Regions from separate parts of the Homo sapiens genome. Here region 2 is linked to region 1. Evidence: promoter capture Hi-C in 16 types of primary human blood cells and fetal thymus (Javierre and others, 2016). All regions are on one chromosome and are shown on one strand. The core of a region is centred on a gene start or on the middle of the fragment in contact, and the rest is flanking DNA. Distances in the headings are between cores, read along the strand shown.

The links. Contacts are between HindIII fragments. The CHiCAGO score rates a contact against its expected background, and 5 or more counts as called.
Region 2: a fragment that was not itself captured here is called in contact with the fragment with the promoter of KLHL25 in region 1 in 1 of 17 cell types (total B cells); the score reaches 6.3 in total B cells.

Annotation. Positions count from the first base shown.
Region 1 is chr15:85,790,945-85,797,448 of GRCh38, forward strand. KLHL25 (kelch like family member 25) reads right to left here and starts at 3,981. Exons shown (of 3, transcript NM_022480.4): 1 at 3,822-3,981. RefSeq lists silencers at 3,652-3,951, 4,102-4,171. The HindIII fragment of the contact is 2,328 bases long and covers 3,077-5,404 here.
Region 2 is chr15:84,572,115-84,578,618 of GRCh38, forward strand. It overlaps LINC00933 (long intergenic non-protein coding RNA 933), which reads left to right. Exons shown (of 4, transcript NR_038274.1): 2 at 101-230; 3 at 908-1,137; 4 at 5,834-6,504. Among named protein-coding and RNA genes, the nearest start is that of LINC00933, 4.7 kb to the left of the region's middle. The HindIII fragment of the contact is 2,256 bases long and covers 1,835-4,090 here.

The sequences.
Region 1 (6,504 bases), core at 2,731-5,230:
TAATCCCAGCACTTTGGGATGCCAAGGCAGGTGGATCACGAGGTCAGGAGTTCAAGACCAGCCTGGCCAACATGGTGAAACCCTGTCTCTACTAAAAATACAAAAAGCCGAGCATGGTGGCGGGTGCCTGTAATCCCAGCTACTGGGGAAGCTGAGGCAGACAACTGGTTGACTTGAGAGGTGGAGATTGCAGTGAGCTGAGATCACACCACTGCACTCCAGCCTGGGCTACAAGGTAAGACTCAGTCTCAAAAAAAAAAAAAGAAAAATGCCAGGCACAGTGGCTCATGCCTGTAATCCCAGCACTTTAGGAGGCTGAGGCGGGTGGATCACCTGAGATCAGGAGTTCAAGACCAGCCTGGACAACATGGAGAAACCCCGTCTCTACAAAAATACAAAAATTAGCCAGGCATGGTGGTGTGTGCCTGTAATCCCAGCTACTCAGGAGGCTGAGGCGGGAGAATCACTTGAATCCAGGAGGCAGAAGTTGCAGTGAACCAAGATGGCGCCATTGCACTCCAGCCTGGGCGACAGAGCGAGACTCCTTCTCAAAAGAAAAAAAGGTTAATAAGCCACACACATCTATCGTTTATCATCCAACAGGGTGCTGGGACAGGGCTTGGAAGGAAAGCAGGAAAGGTTTAGCAGTAAGAAAGAGTGGCAAGAGAGGTAGGGGGCGGGGGTGAGGTGACTGGGGACTCAGGGGAGGGCTGCAAGTCAGCTGCAGAGCAACAAGCACCCAACCTCAATTCTGCACCCAGGGAACAAAAACAAAAAAGGGAAAGGGGAGCCCGGCATGACTGACACCCACTTGGTGCCAGACCCCATTCTAGGGGATTCTGCATAGTATGGTGGTTAACCTTCACCATACCCCTGAAAAAAGCTAACAAAGCTCAATGAGGTTAAGGAACTTGATCACAGACCCACAGCATTTGAACCCCAGTCTGGTGCCAAAGCCCATGCTCTTTCCACTGCTCCTGGGTTAAAAGGACTTAACAGGGAGCCCTTCCTATCCCCAAACCCCTTCGCTTCCCCACCTAATCCCACAGCACCCCTTCCCCAGTTTCTAACAGCCCCAGAAGGACCTGGAGGCAGTATGGGATGATTATGCCTTGAAGATGACAGGTGTCAGCTTTTGACAGCTTTAGGTTGGTATGGCAATGAGGTGGTCAAGGAAAGGGGTTGGAACCTACTGTAGGGGCTGGGCTGACTTCCATCAGCTGGGGATAGCTGCTGATTGATAAGTCCTGTTGGGATGCTGTGACTGAAAGCTGTGGATGCTTAAGTTCTCCCTCCTCCCTCCTCCCCTGCACCTCCCTCCTCTACCCCCAGCTTGTTCCAACTAAGTGTTTCCTGGTGAGGAAAATGCTTCAACAGCCTTGGCTGGCTGAGGCAATTAAATTATGAAATTTACCACATTAGATGAAAACCAGCATCTCAATCAACCAATTCATTTGTGTCTGGCCACTCTGTTTTCTTGTGCCAGCTCTGCCCACACTGGCCAGGCTATGCCTACACTGCCTGGTGGTACAGAGGGACTAGGGGCTCAGACAATGGGCTGGTCTTTGGGACCAGGGGGTAGGTTCTCCCAGGACCCCCAGAGAAGAGAGGCTGCATCCAGAAGCCATCCAGCTTCCTACAAATGCGCTGGACTGCTGACTGTGCGGCCAGACACTACGGACGAGAGCAAACCTTCTACCACCTCCCACTTGCATTCTCCATGGCCTCAACCTGTGCCTATCTTGAGGCTGGCAATGAATTGGGCCTCTGGGAGAAGTGTGGGTGAGCGACAGGACAAAGGTGGCTGCCCTACACCTCGAATCTGGGCGATGACATGCCTTTCTCATCTTAGTCAAGGCATCCTCTCCCCAGGAAGCCTTGCCCACCTGTGTCTCCTTCTCTCCTCTTGCTGCCTCTATCACTACGATGTGTCAGGGCCCCTAATCCATGTGCCAGCACTCCCTCATCTAGGTGCTCACTAAAGGAAGAGTCTCCAGCACCTAACTCAGGGCCTGGCACACAGCAGGTGCCCAATCAAGTCTGTTCAAACAATGAATCAATCAATCAATCAGTCACAAACCACCCACTAAATAACACTCTCACTCATCCTACCCTTCCCCCCGCCCCCGCCCAAGTGATAGACGGGACGAACCAAGCTTGCTTTCACTGGGTAATTGTTCTCTTTTCTTCCTGCTCTCTTCTGCCCACACGGGGTGCCCGCAGATTTAAAACGCTATTAAGGGGCATCGGGCTGCAGAACCTGCTTCCGATGTGGAGCATGCAATTTGCCTATAGCTCTTCTCTCCGCACCACATACATAAATCCAACTGCAGCCCAAGACCCCAGGATGAAGGTGTCTTCCATTTCTACCTCCCTTTTATCAACCACCCTGGAGTCACTGCCTGACAAATGACTCAAAACTGAAATAGCTGCCAGGCCGGAAAAAGACTGACTACGTCAACCTTCACAGGCACAGCTTGTGGACCCAAGAGCCTCCGGTCTTGGGACACCAAATGGACCCTGAGGTGGGGTAGACTTTGTGTCCTACTCTTCCCCAGACCCCCACGCAAGCCTTCACCAACATGCCAGGAATCCTCACAGCTCAGATCAGCACACTGAGCATCAGTTCCTCCTATGAATGGGGAGACTGGGACCCAGGGTCCCAGAGGGCTTGGCCCCATAACGGTCACTGGAATCTGGTCCAGGATACAGACCGTGGAATCCTGCCTCCTCTCCTGGTGCTACTGCTAACTTCCTTCCCTTCCTCTCTCTATTGGGCCGATAGAGTGGAACCAAATGGTCCAGACACCTGGCATTCTCTGCCCTGACTACCGAGGAGAGTCAAAGTCCAGCCCGCCTTCCCCAAGGTCAAATTCACCGGGATCCAGCAGGACCCAAGAGCGTCCAGATTAAATCTGCAGGGGCCTGGGTCCGCCCCCTCACCCACAGTTCGTTGGGTCAGGCCTCTAGAGAGATGTTTCTTTGTTCAAAGACAATGGGAATGCACTTTGGGGGCTTAGAGCAGCAACACAAAAAAAGTATCTGGTATCTCCCGGGCACAATCCCCCAAGAGAAAAGCTTCTAAAGCAACTACGAAAGAGACAGGGGGAGTGGGGGCGTAACATCGCGCGGTGTGTCTCGGAGCCAGGGCAAGTGTGGTAATTAGAGTCAGGCTAGAGGGCTTGCTCTGGACCTGCCAGTCTGGCCGCCACCCAGGTGGACAGGTGGGTGTGCCTTTGAGTGCGACCTTTCTCTGCCGCTGGACAGTTCTGCAAACCGAAACGAGGGACCCTGGCAGGCGGAACGTGAACGGCTCGGGGCTCCGCGGCCAGGCCCGCGCAAACCCTCCCCTTGTGAACCCCGGGCCCTCGCTCTGCGCCAGGCAGGCAGCCATCCGGCCTGGGCGTCCAAGGCGCGGGGCATCGCCGCTCGCGTCCTCAAAGACAAGCAGTCTCTCTTTCCAGGATCAATAGTAATTTTTTAAAAAAAAGAGTCTGCGGACTCAATGAATCAACCACTCCCTGGGGAAAGAGTAGCGGCTCCCGCGCGCAACATCCATTTGCCAAACAATTCATTCCCTCGCGCAGAGCTCTCGGCGAATTCCCTCGCGGAGCCGCGGGGTGCCGGCCGGCCGCCGCTCCCCACCATTGTCCCAGGGCCCCGGCCCCAGCCGCGGGGCCCCCTCCCGGGACACGTAGTCCCGCGGGGGCTCCGAGCGCTTGGTCCCGGCCCGGCCCGGGGTGGTGAGTCCCCAGCGCAGGGAGCGGGGGCGCGGGTGCTGCGGCCAGAGCACGGCGTCCCCGCCCGGCCTGGATACTCACTGCCGGAGACGATCCCCGCCGCCGCCGCCGCCTCAGAGACCACTCCCGGCAGCCCGCGCGAGCTCAACAGGCTCCGCCGCGGCTCCCGTCGGCCGGCTCTCCACAGGCAAAAACGCTCTCGCTGCGATACAGCCTAGGCGCCGCCAACAAACTAGTTTCTCCGGCCTTCCCGCCCCGCCTCCCGGCCCGAAGAGCAGCAGCCAATCAGAGGCATCGCCTCTGTGACGGATGGGCAGCCGAACCCTTCAGTGCAGCCGCAGAAAAGAAGGGGGTGGGCCCCAGGCCGCGCCGGCACCGGGGGGTGGGGGGCCGGGGGCGGGGAGGGGGGGGGACCGGGGGCGGGGCGGGGCGAGGAAAAGGACTTCGACCAGATTCTTAAAGAGACAGGCGCCTGCCCAACCCCGCCGCCCAAGTTTGGGAACAAAACGCGACGGTGTTCTAGAGCTTTCCAGAGGGAGCACTGTAGATTGCATATGCCTCTTTTGTGTTCGGGTCACAAGTGTTGTAGATCTCTTTAGACTCTTCAGAGCCACACTAGTAGTTGCCCGAGTGTTAATGAAACCCTGTCTTTCACTCTGGGCTTGTTTGAATGTTTGGGACTTTCTGCAGCCTCCAAACCCCACCTGTACTTGAAATCTGTATTTTTTGGAGTATTTCAGCTCTCCTCTCTGTGTCATTTCTCACTAAACTCCTTTCGTAAGCCAGCCTTTAAATGTTCGTTCATTCATTCATTCATCCATCCATCCAATAATTTCTTCCAGGAACGTTTCCTGGACGCCCACACCATGCACTCATCTTGGAGGGGGAGAACGGTTTGTGATTCTTCGTCCTTTTCCCTCCTGACTACTACTTCAGCTTACTGTGTGTGTCCAATCTCATCCGTAAAGCGGCAGATAAAAACTCCTCATCGGATTATTTGGGGGATTAAAGGAGACAAATTCCCAGACAAATGAGTGCGCAATAAATGTCCTCTCTTTTCTCCCTCCCAATGAAAATCGATAATTCAAGTAGGTTGCTTAAGGATACAAAAGGTAAAGCATAGAAAGTGATAAGAACGAAAGAGCCAAGCCTGGGGCGGGGAAATTCCCAGGAAGCAGAGGTCACCCTGACGGAGGTGGAGGTGGGAGGTGCAAGGAAGGTCTAAGAAAGTGTACAAAGATTTGGGAGAGGGGATAGGATTGTGACTAGTGGAACCTGGGAAATAGAGCCCCTGGGTAGAAAGCTGCTTAGACAGGACAGATATGCCAGGGTTAAAAGACTGGGAGATGATGAGAAGATACCACCAGGGAAGGCATTTTTGGGAAACAGCTTGATGTTCTGGGTTTGAAGCCCCGCCCTGCCCCTCAAGAGCTGGGTAGGACTGAAGCAGATGGCTCAGACTCTCTGGTGTCTGGTTCTTACTGGTGAAGAGGATTCTAAAACCTTTCTTGCAGGGGTATGGGAAAGATTAAGATAACATATGGAATAGGCCTGGCATGTAGTAAGTGCTCAGTACAGATTTGTGCTTCCATTTGGCCCAGATCTGCAGACATCTAAGGCACCAGGGTTCTGATATTTATGAACAATATTGGCCAGAGGTAAGAAGCTTGCCAAGTGCACTGTTAAGGTGCCTTCTGAAGAGAAAAGGTAGTGAGAGGTGAAGCCAGCTGGACTTTCTGGGTCCAGTGGGGACTTGGAGAACTTTTCTGTCTTACAAGAGGATTGTAAAATGCACCAATCAGCGCTCTGTATCTAGCTAGAGGTTTGTAAAATGTACCAATTAGTGCTCTGTAGAAATGCACCAATCAGCACTCTGTGGCTAGCTAGAGGTTTGTAAAACGGACCAATCAGCACTCTGTAAAATGGACCAATCAGCAGCACATGGGCCTGGACAAATAAGCTAATAAAAGCTGGCCGCCCCCCAGCCAGGAGCAGCAACCCACTTGGGTCCCCTTTGGCGCTGTGGGGGCTTTGTTCTTTCGCTCTCCACGGTAAATTTTTCTGCTGCTCACTCTTTGGGTTCACGCCACCTCTAAGAGCTGTAACACTCACCGTGAAGGTCCGCAGCTTCATTCCTGAAGTCAGCGAGACCACCAACCCACCGGAAGGAACCAGCTCCAACACATTAGCATCAAAGTAATTACTTCATTAAGGAAATGACAGAGATCACATTTGTAGTTTTATCCTGCCGATTTTCTAGCACTAGAGTGTTTATAGAATTGTTGGTTGAATGAAGCTCCACATGCAAAATTGATTCTTGGCAAGTTTATAACTGTTGCTTATTATTTTATGCAGGTTCGCTGTAAAATTATAAGTGCCAACCGCCCAGTAAAATCTGGTCCACATTATAATTTTTTCTCTCTTCAACTCCAAGGCTTAAATTAGGTACTAGAATATATTAAAATCAAATACAGTGTAAGCAATGGGACAAAATCAGACTAAGAACACGTGTGGAGTTAATCGAATTTAGGTACGATTTGAAAGAAGATGAGAGGAAGAGCGGAAGTTTGCCTTGCCATCTATTGCGGACCCTGGAGCATTACCGTCAACGCAGCCCTTACCAGCCAGTGTTGTAATGGCCTGCTTAGCTAGTCCACCTGCTGTGCAGGGAGCTCTGGGAGGGCAGGGACCATGAATTCATCTCAGAACTCTTAGGGCTGCATCAAAGTTGTCTACACAGTTTTGAAATACTGTGAATAAATCT
Region 2 (6,504 bases), core at 1,713-4,212, 1.2 Mb before region 1:
AGGGGTCCAGGCAGTATCAACTTTACTTTGCAGTGAAGCCATCACGTTTGTTAATCAATGAAAACGACATAATGCTCTTTTTTTTTTTTTTTTTTTTTAGCACCAACCATGTGCCTAAAGCTAACTGTGTCAAAAAGAGCATGCTTCGAGGGGCTGGAGTGAGCAATTCAACTTGTGGAGAAATAAGAAATAATAGTGTTGAGACAAGAAACATAAAACCGCAGGGTAAGGTAGGAATCACTGAAGGTCAGGCAAAGGAACTGGCATCCAGTAATGAGTCAGGCTTTGACGGCCTCTGGCCCTACAGATGGCTCTTTGGAGAGGAAAAAATTAAGCCAGGCCTGAGGCCACAGATCCTAAGGGACTGCTGGCAGCTCTAGGCTGTCTATGGAAGAGAAGCAGAGGGTGGCACCTGGTTGAAAGAGGGAGCTGGGGGGCATGGCTTGAGCCCGCATTTACAGATAGAGTCCCCTGATTCCTGCAACTGGGGAAGAAGAGCATGCCTGGATCAGGGGACCTCAAATCAGAACTCTTCCCACCCACACCCCTTCTTTTCAGGGCATCTTTCACTGCAAACAACAGATAAACTAGTTAGAAAGCTCAGCAGATTCTCAGGATGGTGCCTAGCGGGCAGGGCCTAGCTACCCTTTGACAGTGACTGAGGGTGATGCCACAGGCCCGTAAGCACACATTGGAAAATCTTTACATCCATGGACACGCCATGCCCCACAGAGACAGCTGTGCAGGGTTCTTTAGGTTTGGGGTGCTCTGCTGGCAGTTGCCTTATAAATATATAGGATTAAAATGGGATGCCCTGGAGCTTAGCTAACCTTTACACCCCACTCTAAAAGGAACGGACTGCTAGTTTTGTCTGCTTTATAAAAGATGGATCTGTCATTGTTTTTAGAACTTTTGGAGAAAGATTTCTTGGGAGGAAGCTATCCTGAACGCTTAGAGACTTTTCTCATTTACTGGCACACCAGCTTTAGAGTCCTAGGTCTTCATCCTGGCTCAGCCACCCTCCAGCTGTGTGAACTTTGAGAAGTTGCTTGACTACACTGAGTCTCGTTGTCACTATGAGTGGAGGTTGCTACGTTGCTACTGTGTGGAGCACCTACCCCCAAGCACTCTTATAAGGTGATGGTGAAGATTAAATGAAATAATACGGCTCAAGGGGGAGGATCACTTGAAGCCAGGAGTTTGAGACTAGCCTGGGCAACAAAGCCAGACCTCATTTCTATGAAAATGTTTTTTGTTTTCTTTTGTTTTGCTTTTTGAGATGGAGTCTCGCTCTGTTGCCCAGGCTGGAGTGCAGTGGCATGATCTCAGCTCACTGCAAGCTCTGCCTCCTGGGTTCATGCCATTCTCCTGCGTCAGCCTCTGGAGTAGCTGGGACTACAGGCGCCCGCCACCACACCCAGCTAATTTTTTGCATTTTTAGTAGAAACGGGGTTTCACCATGTTAGCCAGGATGGTCTCGATATCCTCACCTTGTGATCCACCTGCCTCGGCCTCCCAAAGTGCTGGGATTACAGGCATGAGCCACCTGCCCGGCCCGAAAATGTTTTTTAAAAAATTAGCTGGACTTGATGGTTTATGCCTGTATTCCCAGCTACTCGGGAGGCTGAGGTGAGATCATTTGAGCCCAGGAGTTTGAGGCTGCAGTGAGCCATGATCACGCCACTGCACTCCAGCTCAGGCAACAGAGAGAGACCCTATCTCAAATCAATGAATAAGTAAGTAAATAAATAAATAAATGAAATAATGCACACAATTACTACACTAGTACATGATCAGGCACATGATAAATGCTCAATAAATGGTAGCCCCAATAAGCTTTGTAATGTTTTGGGAAAGGGTGTCCTTTGGACTCAGCCCAGTGACAGAAGCATTTGAAAAGACTGATTTGTATGATGGCTATTTCCTCCAGGTACAAACCTGTACCTCCAGGGACCCAGGGCATTGGCTCAGTGGGGCACCTTGTTCTATTTTCTCTTGTTTTGGGCAGCACTGATTGCCCTAGGGCTAATCAGGACTGCCACCCCAGACTCCATTGCCAAGAGTATCCCCCTCCCCAAGCTAGCCATGGGAAAGCCACTTGCATCCTAAGACTACTGGAAATTAAAGGGAATAAAAAGCACAATTTAGTCGCTCACTCTCCAGCTGATGGGAAATAGGTTTTTGCTATTTTGAACAGAGCTGTTAGGAACATTCCTTGTCCACATCCCCTGTTTTATATTGTTTTATATAGGCAAGAATTTCTTTTGGATGTAGAGTAGAATTGCTGAGCTGGGAGGAGTATGAATATTCAGCCTTATGAGATGGAGCCAAATTGTTTTCCAAAGTGGTTATACCAGTGTATACTCCCAGCAGCAGTTCTTAAGAGATCTCAGGATCTCTATCTTCTGGTGATGTCACAACATACAAAAAGAATGAATGCCAGCTATAAACAACAATAAGGATGAATCTTAGCAATATAATATTAAGTGAAAAAAAACAAGTTCCAGAAGGATGCATACAGCATCCTCTATATAGCTTGGAAAAGAAAATGTGGGCATGGTGGCTCATGCCTGTAATCCCAGCACTTTGGGAGGCCAAGGCAGGAGGATTGCTTTAGGCCAGGAATTCAAGACCAGCCTAGGCAACATAGCAAAACTCTGTCTCTACAAAAACTAGAAAAATTAACTGGGTGTGGTGGTGCAGGCTTGTAGTCCCAGCTACTCATGAGGCTGAGGTGGGAGGATCTCTTGAGTCTAGGTGATCAAGGTTACAGTGAGCCATTACTGCACCACTGCACTCAGAGACAGTAAGTAACTTGTCTAAGGTGGCCTCATTAGAAGTTAGCTGCGGCCAGGCGCAGTGGCTCACACCTGTAATCCCAGCACTTTGGAAGGCTGAGGCGGGCGGATCATGAGGTCAGGAGATCGAGACCATCCTGGCTAACACAGTGAAACCCCATCTCTACTGAAAATACAAAAAAAAATTAGCCGGGCATGGTGGCAGGCGCCTGTAGTCCCAGCTACTTGGGAGGCTGAGGCAGGAGAATGGCGTGAACCCGGGAGGCAGAGCTTGCAATGAGCCAAGATCGGGCCACTGCACTCCAGCCTGGGCAACACAGTGAGACTCCATCTCAAAAAAAAAAAAGAAGAAGTTAGCTGTGGTGGCTGGGTGCAGTGGCTCATGCCTATAATCCCAAAACTCAGGGAGGCCAAGGCAGGAGGATCACCTAAGATCAGGAATGTGAGACCAGCCAGGCCAACATGGTGAAACCCTGTCTTTACTAAAAATACAAACATTAGCCAGGTGTGGTGGTGGATACCTGTAATCCCAGCTACTCTGGAGGCTGAGGCAAGAGAATAGCTTGAACCCAAGAGGCAGACATTGCAGTGAGCTGAGACTGCACCACTGCACTCCAGCCTGGATGACAGAGCAAGACTCCATCTCAAAAAAAAAAAAAAAAAAAGATTCAAAAGCGTTAGAAACCAAATAAATGTAATGAAAACAATCAGATTTTCTGCTTAAAGACCAGCGAAGAGGACAAATGGGAGGGGGAAACTGGAGCTCTGCCCCTGTTGGTGGGAGTATAAACTGAACCAATTTTTCTGCAGGATAATTTGAAAATTTATATTAAAAACCCTAAAACTGTTGTACGTTATTTTCCTCCAGAAATTCTACTTCTATGAATTAAATCCAAAAATGCTTGCTCTAATCCACTAAAAATATACATATAAGAAAATTTATTTCTGGGGTGGCAATGATTAAGTTAATATACATCGAGCTATTAAAAATGATGATGCTAAGGATAGATTTACTGCCATAGAAATATGCCTAAAACATAGTGACAAAAGACTATATAATGATTCTACTTTTTAAAATGTGTATATGCATAAAAAAGTATAAAAAGCAACAAGGCAGAATGTTTTGAGTGGCAAAATTAAAGACTTTTCTTCATATTTTGTCTTCCAAATTATTAGAAAAAGAATATGATTTTCTTTATAATCAGGGAGAAGTATTATTTTCATTTATTTCTATTTAAATTTATTTTCTTTTCCTTATTTTTTCTCATCTATGTATCACATATAGTCTAGAAAGCTTGAATCCCTGCCTCTTGAGATAAATCAGCCCATTTCTTTCTCTATAAATTTGCCTTTTTTGGACATTTCAAATCAATGGAATTATACAATATGTGGTCTCGTGTCTGGCTTTTTTACTTAGCTAATGTTTTTGAGGTTGGTCCATGACATATTGTAGCAGGATGAGCTGCAGACAAAACTCCTCAGACACCAGGTTAAAAAAGGAAGGAGCTTTATTCAGCTGGGAGCTTCTGCAGACTTGCATCTCAAAAGCCAAGCTCCCCAAGTAAGCAATGACTGTCCCTTTTAAGGGCTTACAACTCTAAGGGGGTCTGTGTGAGAGGGTCGTGATCAATTGAGGAAGCAGGGGGTATGTGACTGGGGGCTGCATGCACCAGTAATTGGAATGGAACAGAACAGGACAGGGATTTTCACAATGCTTTTCCATACAATGTCTGGAATCTATAGATAACACAAGCAGTTAGGTCAGGGGTTGATTTTTAACTACCAGGCCCCCAATTTTTTTTTTTGAGATGGAGTCTCACTCTGTTGCCCAGGCTGGAATGCAGTGGTGGGATCTCAGCTCACTGCAAGCTCCGCCTTCCAGGTTCATGCCATTCTTTTGCCTCAGCCTTCTGAGTAGCTGGGACTACAGGTGCCTGCCACCACGCCCAGCTAATTTTTTGTATTTTTAGTAGAGTCGGGGTTTCACCGTGTTAGCCAAGGTAGTCTTGATCTCCTGACCTTGTGATCTGCCCACCTCAGCCTCCCGAAGTGCTGGGATTACAGGCATGAGCTACCACACCCGGCTGATATTGAAATTAACGTTTTGCTTTCTTCTTGCATCTATTTTTCACTTCTCTGACATTTTGATGGATAAAGTTTCATTTGGAAGGATTTTTATTTCAAAATAGAAATAGCATATAACATGAGAATGGGAACTCTGAAAGGTTCAACTTTCTAGTCATTAGTTTCCTAAGATTGTCATGAAAGCCACATATAGTCAATCATGATTGGCCTGTATTAAAAGTGAGATAACATCATGTACAACTTAAGCACTGTACTTTCTATCAGATATAGAAAAATAGGTGGTGTGTTTGGAAAAGTATTGGGCTAGGAGTCAGGAAGCTTGACTGTTAGTCCCAACCCTCCTTCTTCAGCTGAGCACCCCTAGGCAATAATTCAGCAGCTATTTCTTAAATACCTAATGAGTTTCAGGCTTTGTAGTTGGGCTGGGAATAAAGATATAGATATTGCTTTCATGATTCTCCAAGGCTCCCCTCCTCACCCCAACTCACAGTGAGCTTTCTTATGCATTGTGTAAATTTGTCTCCTAACAGGTCCCAACTCTCTCTCCAACCTGCTTCCCAGGGAAGTTGTGAGGATCAAATGAGAGAGAATATGTATGAAAGCAAATTCTAAATGATTTTAAAATGCAATAAAATATGACCTATGGAAAATTATTTAAAGATCCTTAGAATTTTAAATAAACAGTACATTAACCTGAGTTCTCTATGGTTTTTATTTTAAATAGATATGAAAGTTTTACAATGAACCACTGATATGGTTGAAAAACTTAGCTTGATTATTCTCCAAGAAAATGATACAGTGGTTTGTCTGGTGAATTTTCTAAAATTGCCAGCCAAATAAAACCAAAACCTCTTTTGAGTTGAGTGACTGGATCAGTCAAAGGAACATTGACTGTGTAATGGAGAAATGTTTTCTGTGTTCACTGACAGCTTGCCGTTGTTTGATTCCAGCTGCAGCATATCATGAGTGATGAGATCTGTGTACAGGTGACTGACCTTTACCTGGCAGAAAATAATAATGGGGCCACCGGAGGCCAGCCGAACACACAGAACTCAAGAAGCCTCCTGGAGTCAACGTATCCACAGAAAGCCAAGCAGCTAATGTCAGATGAGAAATGCTTTAAGGTGAGAGTTGCTCATGTAGTCAAAGACCTTGCTGGTGACAATGTAAGTTGTTAGGATTCTCTGAATCGGAAGTTATAGCCAGGGTACTTTGACCCCGTGATTCTACTCCTGGAACTTTTTAGAGTTCCTAATGAGTTCACCAGAGAAATACAAAGTGGAAGTAACCATCTTCCTGGACAATCTATTTTGTTTCTTTCTTGCCTTAAAAAAAAAAAACTAGTTATATATGATTTTTACAATTTTGTATTCTTCTTTTTCCCTGAACATTTTTCATAATATGCTTTGTATCTCTTATTGTTAAAAAAAAAAGTTGGTACATGAAACCCATGGTCGTGGTCATTATAGAAAAAAAAGTAGGCCTGGCACACTTGGCTCACACTTGTAATCCCAGCACTCTGGCAGGCCGAGATGGGTAGATCGCTTGAGACCAGCTTGGGCAATGCAGCAAAACCCCATCTTTGCAAAAAATACAAGAATACAAAAATTAGCCAGGTGTG